Linked DNA regions of Homo sapiens: regions 1 and 2 are each linked to region 3. Evidence: promoter capture Hi-C in 16 types of primary human blood cells and fetal thymus (Javierre and others, 2016). All regions are on one chromosome and are shown on one strand. Each heading gives the region's core, a stretch centred on a gene start or on the middle of the fragment in contact. The rest is flanking DNA. Distances are from core to core; before and after follow the strand shown. Region 1 overlaps PPP4R1 (protein phosphatase 4 regulatory subunit 1). Region 2 overlaps PPP4R1 (protein phosphatase 4 regulatory subunit 1). Region 3 holds the start of TXNDC2 (thioredoxin domain containing 2).

Region 1 (3,221 bases), core at 199-2,698, 310 kb before region 3:
CCTTTGTGACTCTGTATAATGGGAATTATCCTGTCTCCTAAGAGACGTAGGTATCAAGAGCACCAGAGGACAGTCCAGAAACTACCTACTTAAGGAGGAATCTTAAGTGTCTTTTTGTGCCTACATAAGTTTATAATTAATATCTTCAGAGTTCCTTAGTAGAGACTATGGGCCTAGAAAATTAATTACAGGTATTTCAAGGAGAAAATGACTTGTAGAACATCTGGCTAAAGAGGTATTGTATCCTGAGATAAAAGCAAACACGCTCCAGGATACCTTCCAAGTACTGTGAATTAACTCAATGAAGTTTTAGCATTCATGAAATATTTCCAAATTTGTGCTAATAATTTTTTTTCATATAGTTAGCATTAAGCTAAACTGGAAAAATCCAGCAAAAGTGGTTTAGTTACTTCAGATTTTTGAGGTCAAATCCATATTTCCCTAGAATAATTCATTCAGGATTAATATGTGCACCAACGGGCCAGGCCCAGCGGAGACAAAGGGAGGAGCTGGACGCCACACTGCATGGCCGGGAGGCTACTGGATGATAGATGCCAATATGTAGCCAAAAGGATAGGATTAAAATAGTGCTCTCATTACAGCGCTACTGATGATGAAGACAAAAGCTCTGTACTTCCTGGACAACTCAGTGCATCTAAGACAGCACTTTGTTAAACGAGGGTATGGATGGAACAAGAAGCTTCCCAGAGAGCAGCAAGTACAAAAACAGGGAGAATTAAGAGAACATGGTGCATTCAGAGAACAATGTGATAACGAATGCTTATTTTACATACTTTTAAAATGCAGATTTGAGTATTTCAACTCTGCTTCTGAGAAGTAGGCTTTATCAGCACTTTCAAAGAAGCATTAACAGCCTGATCCAGGGTGAGTGAAAGATCTGATGTGTAAGTCAGATGTTTGGAATCAATAAATGCTTCAAAGAGTAATAAAGTGATAGTAAATGTTTCTAGGGTCAGATGAAACACTATACAATAAACAGTGGTGGAAATATGTTGCCAAAAACTTGCTTACTTTGTAAGACATTTGTTTGAAAAACCTGAATCTAAGAAACTGAGAGAACTTTGAGGACAGGAACGAAGTTCTATCTTTCCATTTACAGTTTCTGGTTCATAGGAGGTGCTCAGTTAACTTTTGCATAATCAATCAATCAATCTTAATACCACAACAGTTTAAGACAGCTTAAAACAAATGCCACTGTGCTATTTAAGGGAGGGCAAACAAACTAATGGTTCTGAGATTTAATAATATATAGGACTACTTCTTTATAGTTTGTCAAACTATGCAAAAGCTTTTACAATATTTAACATAACTCCTTCCTTAGCCAGGAATGCTCTCTTTCCCCTACCATATCATTAACATAATTTAATAAGCTCTAATATTACTGAAGATCAGCAATACAAGTAGTATTGCCTGGACATTAAGACATACCTCATTACAATGGAAGAAGAATCAAGGAATTGAACTACCTTTAAATAGCTATTGCAGTAATGCTACACACCGGTAGGCGGCAAACATGGCCTTGATAGGCACACTGTTGAGGTCAGTGAAGTTTTACTGGAACACAGCCAAGCTTGTCCATTTATGTAATGTCTACGGCTGCTTATACACTGCAAAGGCCGAGTGAGTAGTTGTGAAACAGAAGAAAGTTTACCAGCTCGTCCTATACAGTTCTCTGCAAATTTATAGTTTCTTACTAGACCCATTTCAGATTTTAAAACAGAAGTTATGTAACAGTCTTCAGTATAAACAGGTAATTTTTTAAGTATGCTGATTTCAAAAATGAAAAATAGATAACATTCCCCACCCACCATCATCACTTTTGTCAAAGTCCTGGCAGCACCTGTTTTCAAAAAAACTGACAGACTTTGCTTGCTAGGAAGACAGGTTTGAGTGATTTTCTTCCTTTACAAAAAACAGTACCTCAGGTTTGTTTGGCTATTCAGCAGGACAGTAGGAGAACGGGCAAAAAGGTAAAACAAGGCAGCAGAGAAGAAAGAAGAACTGCCAAATCAAAACACCAAGAAAGCAAATAGCACAGTATCAAGACCTACAGAAGAAAATGTCCATTAGCATCATGACAAGGGAGGGAAAAGACACTATGGTAACTCAAGCATTATAGCAGGGACTGTTTCAAATATTTGTACTAAAATTACTTCAAGTGCATAACTGTAAAAGTTTGTGTACATTTCCCGCATACTAGTAAGTTAGGCTTGAATTAGTTTTTCCCCTAAATATATATTATAATAAATTTTTAAAATTTAAATTTAATAGAAAATTTTCAATGCAAAAACATTTAAAAATAAAAATCACAGCCGACTCTTTAAGCTTTATTTAAAACTTTGGTTTCCTTATGAGACTGATATACTTAAAACTGATATACTGGCTAATATACTGGCTTTCTCCTTTAACTGACAGATTACAATCACCATTGACAAAGAATCCAAGATGCGCAACTAAATTATTTGACAGAAAAGGACAATAAAACATATTCCTAAATTAAGTTTTACTCCTTAAAAACAAATTTAAAAAAACCCAAATACTACACAGTGTGTAACAATTACCCTGTATATTGTAGATATCAATGAATGATTGACTAAATAATGTACTAAATAAACATTTTTTAAAAGTCATAATCTACCATTTAGAGTTTCCTATGTGCGAGGCATCTAGCTAATTGTGTTACATGCATCTACTCATTCAATATGTAACCAACCAAAGAGATACTTAACAAACAAATGCGCTTAAAGTAAAGCTCTATAAAAATATTCACCAATTTTTATATTCAAGAGAAATAGCAAACTATCAAAAAATAACATTTGTTGCAGAATAGTGGAAATAATGTTTAAAAGCAGTAAAATTAGAAAACAAGGTTTTAAAATTAGAAAATGGTTTCAAAATTATACCTATTTTTGTTTTCTACTGACATCTCTTCTGAACTTTTGCTTTCTTCTTTAAAATACTGGCCTGAGCTAGATGGATTAGCAAAAGTAGATATGAAAGGTCCCAGAGACTGAAAAGCTGCTTGGCGAACCTAGGAAGATAAAAAGGACAATAATAAAGGAATCATTTTGAAAAAGAATTATATACGCACACATTATGTATATTTAATAATCTACTTTCAAATGCCGAAGTATGTTTAGGATAATAATGAAGCTTTTCTAAAGGAAGCCCAGATTCAGAACTTTAGCTAGGACTGAAAA
Region 2 (3,076 bases), core at 449-2,948, 290 kb before region 3:
GGTATCGAGCAAACTCCGGGCCACCATTTGTCTACACAAAAAAAACAAAATTATGTATGTTCAATGGCATCAATAGCTAATATCCAGAATTTTAATTTTTTGAGACAGGGCCTCATTCCTGTTGCCCAGGCCGGAGTGTAATGGTGTGATCACGGCTAACTGCAGCATTGACTTCCCTGGCTCAGGTAATCCTCCCACCTCAGCCTCCTGAGTAGCTGAGACTACAGGCATGCACCACCACACCTGGCTAATTTTTAAATATCTTTAGTAGAGATGCTGTTTCACCATGTTGCCCAGGCTGGTCTCAAACTCCCGGGCTCAAGCAATCCACCTGCCTTGGCCTCCCAAAGTGCTGGGATTACAGGCATGAGTCACTGCACCTGGCCGATATCTAGAATTTTAAAAGACAAAATCTGTATATTTTTTAAGAAAATTTTTTCTTATTACATTATTAAAACATATATTAGGTCTATAATTTCCTAAGTGGCAAACGGCAGTATTGATTTTATTTTAACAAGATGAGACTGAATATTTACAACATTTTTTTTTAATCTTTATCTAACTGATTTGGTAAAAAGTCACCAAAAATTCATTTCAGTTGTCCTTCAATTATCACAATGAAAAAACACACTCATTCATTATACAAAATGTTACCCTTACATATTTTTAGTAGTATGAGTTTTGCATAGCTATACCCAAAAAATCTGAACCAAGACTTTTTGATTTCCCAGAAAAGTGTGATATAGGTGGTCTGGGATCATGGCTGGACAAACACAATGCAGTAGGAAGAGTGCTGGCTCTTGGTCACTGCTGTGTGACCCAATGATCTTGAGCATCACCCGTCATACAGCAGGTATACAACATCATGTGTTGAAGGAATAATGTACTTCCCAATAAGCAATTTATATGAATACCAAAATTATGTCCAGTGGCAGAAAAGCAATGGTAATTAATGGTAATTTTTTTTTTTGCAAAGAAAGCATGTTGTATGCTTACTAGGATCAAAGAATAAACAAGTACAAAACTGCTCATGCTGTGATTATGAATAAAACTTGGTGACTCAGATTGTGCCTGTTAATAATACCTCCTTTAAAGTGGATACTTTCATTTTCCCTACTGAAGTTAATAAAACCACCCTTCCACTTCCACTTTAACAAAAAGAATATGCACATACCTGTTAAATATGTTCTCACTTGCAGCATACTTGTCCAATCTCCCCAGGGGCGTCAACATTTCATCTTGTGAGACAAAGTCCAGGGCTGAAGGTATAATAATCACATCAGACTCTGAGCTGTAGTCATCCACACCAACTATCAGAGACATCAGAAATACTCCTTATAACACTTTGAAACTAAAATGTACCCCTTGCCTGTCTGAAGCAGTACAAATCTGTTTCTGGAATGGTACAAAAAAAAAATCACAAGAGACTCTCAGAATCAATCCAGAAGCCACAAATAACTAAAAGATACCTCCTCTCCTTTTCCTACAGATATGTTCTACTTGGCTCTATAAGCACAAAGTTCTACTTGGCTCTAAAAGCACAAAGGTCAGAGGCTACAGAAACTCAGTATGCAGGAAAGTGACCAGTCTTGAGAACATGTTCAATCAAGACACTAACAACTTGTGAATAGGCACACAAAAAGTCAAGCACCAATATAGTTAGTCCTGCAATGTGGAAGATAAAGCTAATGAAACTGGTATCTAACTTCACTTAATAGAAGAAAGCTAAAAACATTAATATATTTACATTCATTAAACAAATATTTATTAAATACATTTGTGCCAAGTACTAGGGTAGATGCTGGAGAAACAACAATGAAAATACTAATGTTTCTGACTTCAAAGAGCTAATATTCTACAGAAAACAATCTACTTTAAAATGATCATTGTAATAAAAGTATGTATTAATACAAACTAAAAGGCCAGACACCCATTCAAGCTGCAGGAGAAGGAAGAGAAGACCAAGAAAGAATGGCTAAAAACTAACCAAAAGGTAATTATTTCAAAGGAACCAAGCAATGAGTGAAAGTATGATTAAACAGCATCTACTACCAAAGGAGTCAAGGAAGAACTGAAAGGTGCCCACTGAATTTGGTACTTTTGTGCCATGCTGTGTGACAAGGGCAATTTTCCATTGCATGAAAGCCGAGAAGCCAAACCTGACTGAAGAGGTAAAGGAAAATATAATAAAGTGAAGACAATGAATACAAAATATACTTTCCAGAACTGTGGCTGTGATATAGTAAACTGGATTAGATTACTAGCCAGGGCATTCAAGCAAAATAAAGATTATTTATTTTGTTCTGTTCCTAATGTTTAAAAGAAGACAGAGTTGCACATGGTTATATAATGAAAGTAAACAGTCAACAAATAAATATAAATTGAAGTTTTAGCAATAAGAAAATATTACTGATGGAAACACCATGGGGTTGGAAAGGATGCGATCCAGAGGTAAATCAGGGCCTTTCCCAAAGCCCTAAGAGCTTTCCAAGAAATTTTTATTATTATTTCCTGGCACTTCCTATTCTATCCCCTGCATTACTTGATTTACTTTCTCAATAGTGCCTGTCAACATCTGGTACGTATTAGTTGTTTTACTTATAGTCTGTCTCTCTAGAGTAAGTTATTGGCTCCATGAGGACAGAAATTTTTATCCCATACACTGCTTCATCTCCAGGATATTTCCAGGCACAAAGTAAGCATTTAAGTATTTTTGAAACAAATAAATCTGTTCATCACTCACAATGAGATTTTGTCGTTGCTCCTTTAGCTCTTAAGAGAGAAAAAGAAAACCACCTAAGAAACTCCTCCCAAATGTTGCTATATGAGAGACAGAAAAGATTCATCATTTCCTGATGAACTGTTATTGCTGTTAGGGCATTTTAAAATGCTTGTTTTTAAAGTAAATGTGTATATACCATGGGCCCATCTTACAGAACTGACTACTTTAAACAGATAACATTTTTACTCCCAACAGAACATTATCAAAAAGAGAACACAACAGTTCCTTTTGTTAAAATAAAAATAACTTCTGTACTTAAAGAACACTTAAACATGATCTTCCACTTTTGACAAA
Region 3 (2,977 bases), core at 250-2,749:
CCTGGAACAGGATTCATATCATCAAGAACTACGGATTTGCTGGGCCAGGCATGGTGGCTCACGCCTGTAATCCCAGCAATTTGGGAGGCTGAGGCAGGTGGATCGTTTGAGGTCAGGAGTTAGAGACCAGCCTTGCTAACATGGTGAAACCCTGTCTCGACTAAAAAAAATACAAAAATTAGCCGGGTGTGGTGGTGAATGCCTGTAATCCCAGCTACTCGAGAGGGTGAGGCAAGAGAATTGCTTGAACCTGGGAGATAGAGGTTGCAGTGAGTCGAGATTGTGCCACTGCACTCCAGCCTCGGTGACAGGGCAAGACTGTCTCAAAGAAAAAAAAAAAAGGAACTATGGATTTGCTAAGGCCAATAGTCTCTCTACCCCTTAGTAAAATGTGTTTTGGTATAAAAATCCAGATAATTGAACCATTGCCATTAGATGTTTCGAGGTTTCTATTGACAATGTGGAGGTCTTATCATTTAGATTTCAACACTTTTATTTTTAGTTTTTAGAGACGGGGCCTTGCTCTGTTGCCCAGGCTAGAGTACGATGTAGTGATCACGGCTCACTGCAGTCTTGAACTCACTGGCTCAAGCAAGCCTCCCACCTCAGCTTCCCAAGTAGCTGGGACAGGCGTGTGCCACTGTGCCTGGCTAGGTTTTGTATTTTTTGTAGAGATGGGGTCTTGCTATGTTGCCTAGGCTGATCTCAAACTCCTGGGCTCAAGAAATCCTCCCACCTTGGCCTCCCAAAGTACTGAGATCACGGTGTGAGCCACCATGCCTGACCACTTTCAACACTTATATTGTTGGGGTGAAACTGAAACATATGAGGATTTGTTCAAAGTACATGTAGAGAAGGCAAAATTCCACACTGATTCTTCCTGCCTTGGACTGGATGTGTTGTGCAGAGTGAGGGTGGAAAATGAGCCAGTGGTCCTGAACTAATAAAATAAGTCTCCCTGGGGGACAGGTATTTGGCTTCCCATTCCACAGGATGGGGTAGATGTGGCTTATGGAACCAGGATTATTCACAAAGAGGTTGTTCTCCTGTATGTAAAGGCTGGAAGAGCCGTGTACTTGGATGTGTCTGCATGGGGGAGGGCACAGGCTGGGCTGGTGCGCCTGGGAGGTGGGGGAGGTGGGGAAAGAGGCTGTCTAGCAGGAGCTGAACATTTGACATTGTGGGACACTTTGCAGAGGAGGCTAACATGGTTTCGAGGAGATACTTAGGAGCTGGTCACAATGGGTGAGTCGTAAAGAGAATGTTGGAGCTGGGGGATCCTGGAGAAAGATGATAAGATGGTTGATTCACAGAACCCAGGCTGGACGGGACTTGTGGCGAGCAGTCCAGCACAGCCTCACAGTGCAGAGCATGAGCTTTGGAGCCTGCCCCCACCCTAGCTTTGTGACCTTAAGTGAGCTACATAGCTTCTCATGTGTAAACTACTCATCATAATGGTTCTGACCTCAGTGGTTTGTTGTGTTCTAGGAAATGATGCCAGTGAATGCGTAGTCCCAGCCTCAGCACAGGGGAGCCACCTTGAAGCTCTCAAATATCACTGTTGTGAATACAGAGAGGGAAAACCAACTGTAACGTGCCACCCAAATGTAAGTTTTACTCATATTTTGATGTTAGGATGGATAGCTTGGAAAAAGTTGGAGGGTACGGCCTTTACTATGAGGCATCTATGAAGGATCAGGAATGGATGTAGACAAGGAACTAGGAATGGAAAGTGTTAAAGCTGGAGCCTCTGGAAAACCAGAAATGAGGCTGGGCACTCAGGAAGAAACAAGTGAAGGTGATGCTAATGGTAAGTAGGGGAGGAAAGAGGGTTGCCTTAAAGACCTATGCAGTTAGGGAGCGGGCAGGGTGTTGAACCAAGAAGGGAAAGTTGTAGCTTAAGAACATGTATACAGAAGATACGTGTAACCACACGCTGTTTGTCCTTCTGCTGAATGAGTTTTTCAGATTAATACATCATTCATCAGACTTCATTCGTGATCTCGAAGAGTGACATCAGTCTTCCTTGGAATATGAAGAGAATTTCTTTGGTTCTTCTTTTGCATTTCTATTTGATTTATTTTATTTTATTTTATTTTATGTTTTTTGGTACAGAAAGCTCATTACTAGTCCTGTCCAGCAACGTGCCTCTCCTGGCCCTAGAGTTCTTGGAAATAGCCCAGGCCAAAGAGAAGGCCTTTCTCCCCATGGTCAGCCACACGTTCCACATGCGCACAGAGGAGTCTGATGCCTCACAGGAGGGCGATGACCTACCCAAGTCCTCAGCAAACACCAGCCATCCCAAGCAGGATGACAGCCCCAAGTCCTCAGAAGAAACCATCCAGCCCAAGGAGGGTGACATCCCCAAGGCCCCAGAAGAAACCATCCAATCCAAGAAGGAGGACCTCCCCAAGTCCTCAGAAAAAGCCATCCAGCCCAAAGAGAGTAACATCCCCAAGTCCTCAGCAAAACCCATCCAGCCCAAGCTGGGCAATATTCCCAAGGCCTCAGTGAAGCCCAGCCAGCCCAAGGAGGGTGACATCCCCAAGGCCCCAGAAGAAACCATCCAATCCAAGAAGGAGGACCTCCCCAAGTCCTCAGAAGAAGCCATCCAGCCCAAAGAGGGTGACATCCCCAAGTCCTCAGCAAAACCCATCCAGCCCAAGCTGGGCAATATTGCCAAGACCTCAGTGAAGCCCAGCCAGCCCAAGGAGAGTGATATCCCCAAGTCCCCAGAAGAAACCATCCAGCCCAAGGAGGGTGACATCCCCAAGTCCTCAGCAAAGCCCATCCAGCCCAAGCTGGGCAATATTCCCAAGGCCTCAGTGAAGCCCAGCCAGCCCAAGGAGGGTGACATCTCCAAGTCCCCAGAAGAAGCCATCCAGCCCAAGGAGGGTGACCTCCCCAAGTCCCTAGAGGAAGCCATCCAGCCCAAGGAGGGTGACATCCCCAAGTCCCCAGAAGAAGCCATCCAGCC

What was found. The method cuts DNA at HindIII sites, captures the fragments that hold promoters and counts their contacts. A CHiCAGO score of 5 or more calls a contact.
Region 1: a fragment that was not itself captured here is called in contact with the fragment with the promoter of TXNDC2 in region 3 in 1 of 17 cell types (erythroblasts); the score reaches 5.3 in erythroblasts.
Region 2: a contact is called between a fragment that was not itself captured here and the fragment with the promoter of TXNDC2 in region 3, in 1 of 17 cell types (neutrophils). The highest score is 7.3, in neutrophils.

Annotation. Positions count from the first base shown.
Region 1 is chr18:9,574,140-9,577,360 of GRCh38, forward strand. It overlaps PPP4R1 (protein phosphatase 4 regulatory subunit 1), which reads right to left. Exons shown (of 20, transcript NM_001042388.3): 10 at 2,925-3,052. Among named protein-coding and RNA genes, the nearest start is that of PPP4R1, 39 kb to the right of the region's middle. RefSeq lists enhancers at 91-601, 602-1,112. The HindIII fragment of the contact is 282 bases long and covers 1,308-1,589 here.
Region 2 is chr18:9,593,844-9,596,919 of GRCh38, forward strand. It overlaps PPP4R1 (protein phosphatase 4 regulatory subunit 1), which reads right to left. Exons shown (of 20, transcript NM_001042388.3): 3 at 1,175-1,310; 4 at 1-31. Among named protein-coding and RNA genes, the nearest start is that of PPP4R1, 19 kb to the right of the region's middle. The HindIII fragment of the contact is 4,261 bases long and covers 1-3,076 here.
Region 3 is chr18:9,884,474-9,887,450 of GRCh38, forward strand. TXNDC2 (thioredoxin domain containing 2) reads left to right here and starts at 1,500. Exons shown (of 2, transcript NM_032243.6): 1 at 1,500-1,607; 2 at 2,116-2,977. The coding sequence starts at 2,208. The HindIII fragment of the contact is 12,861 bases long and covers 1-2,977 here.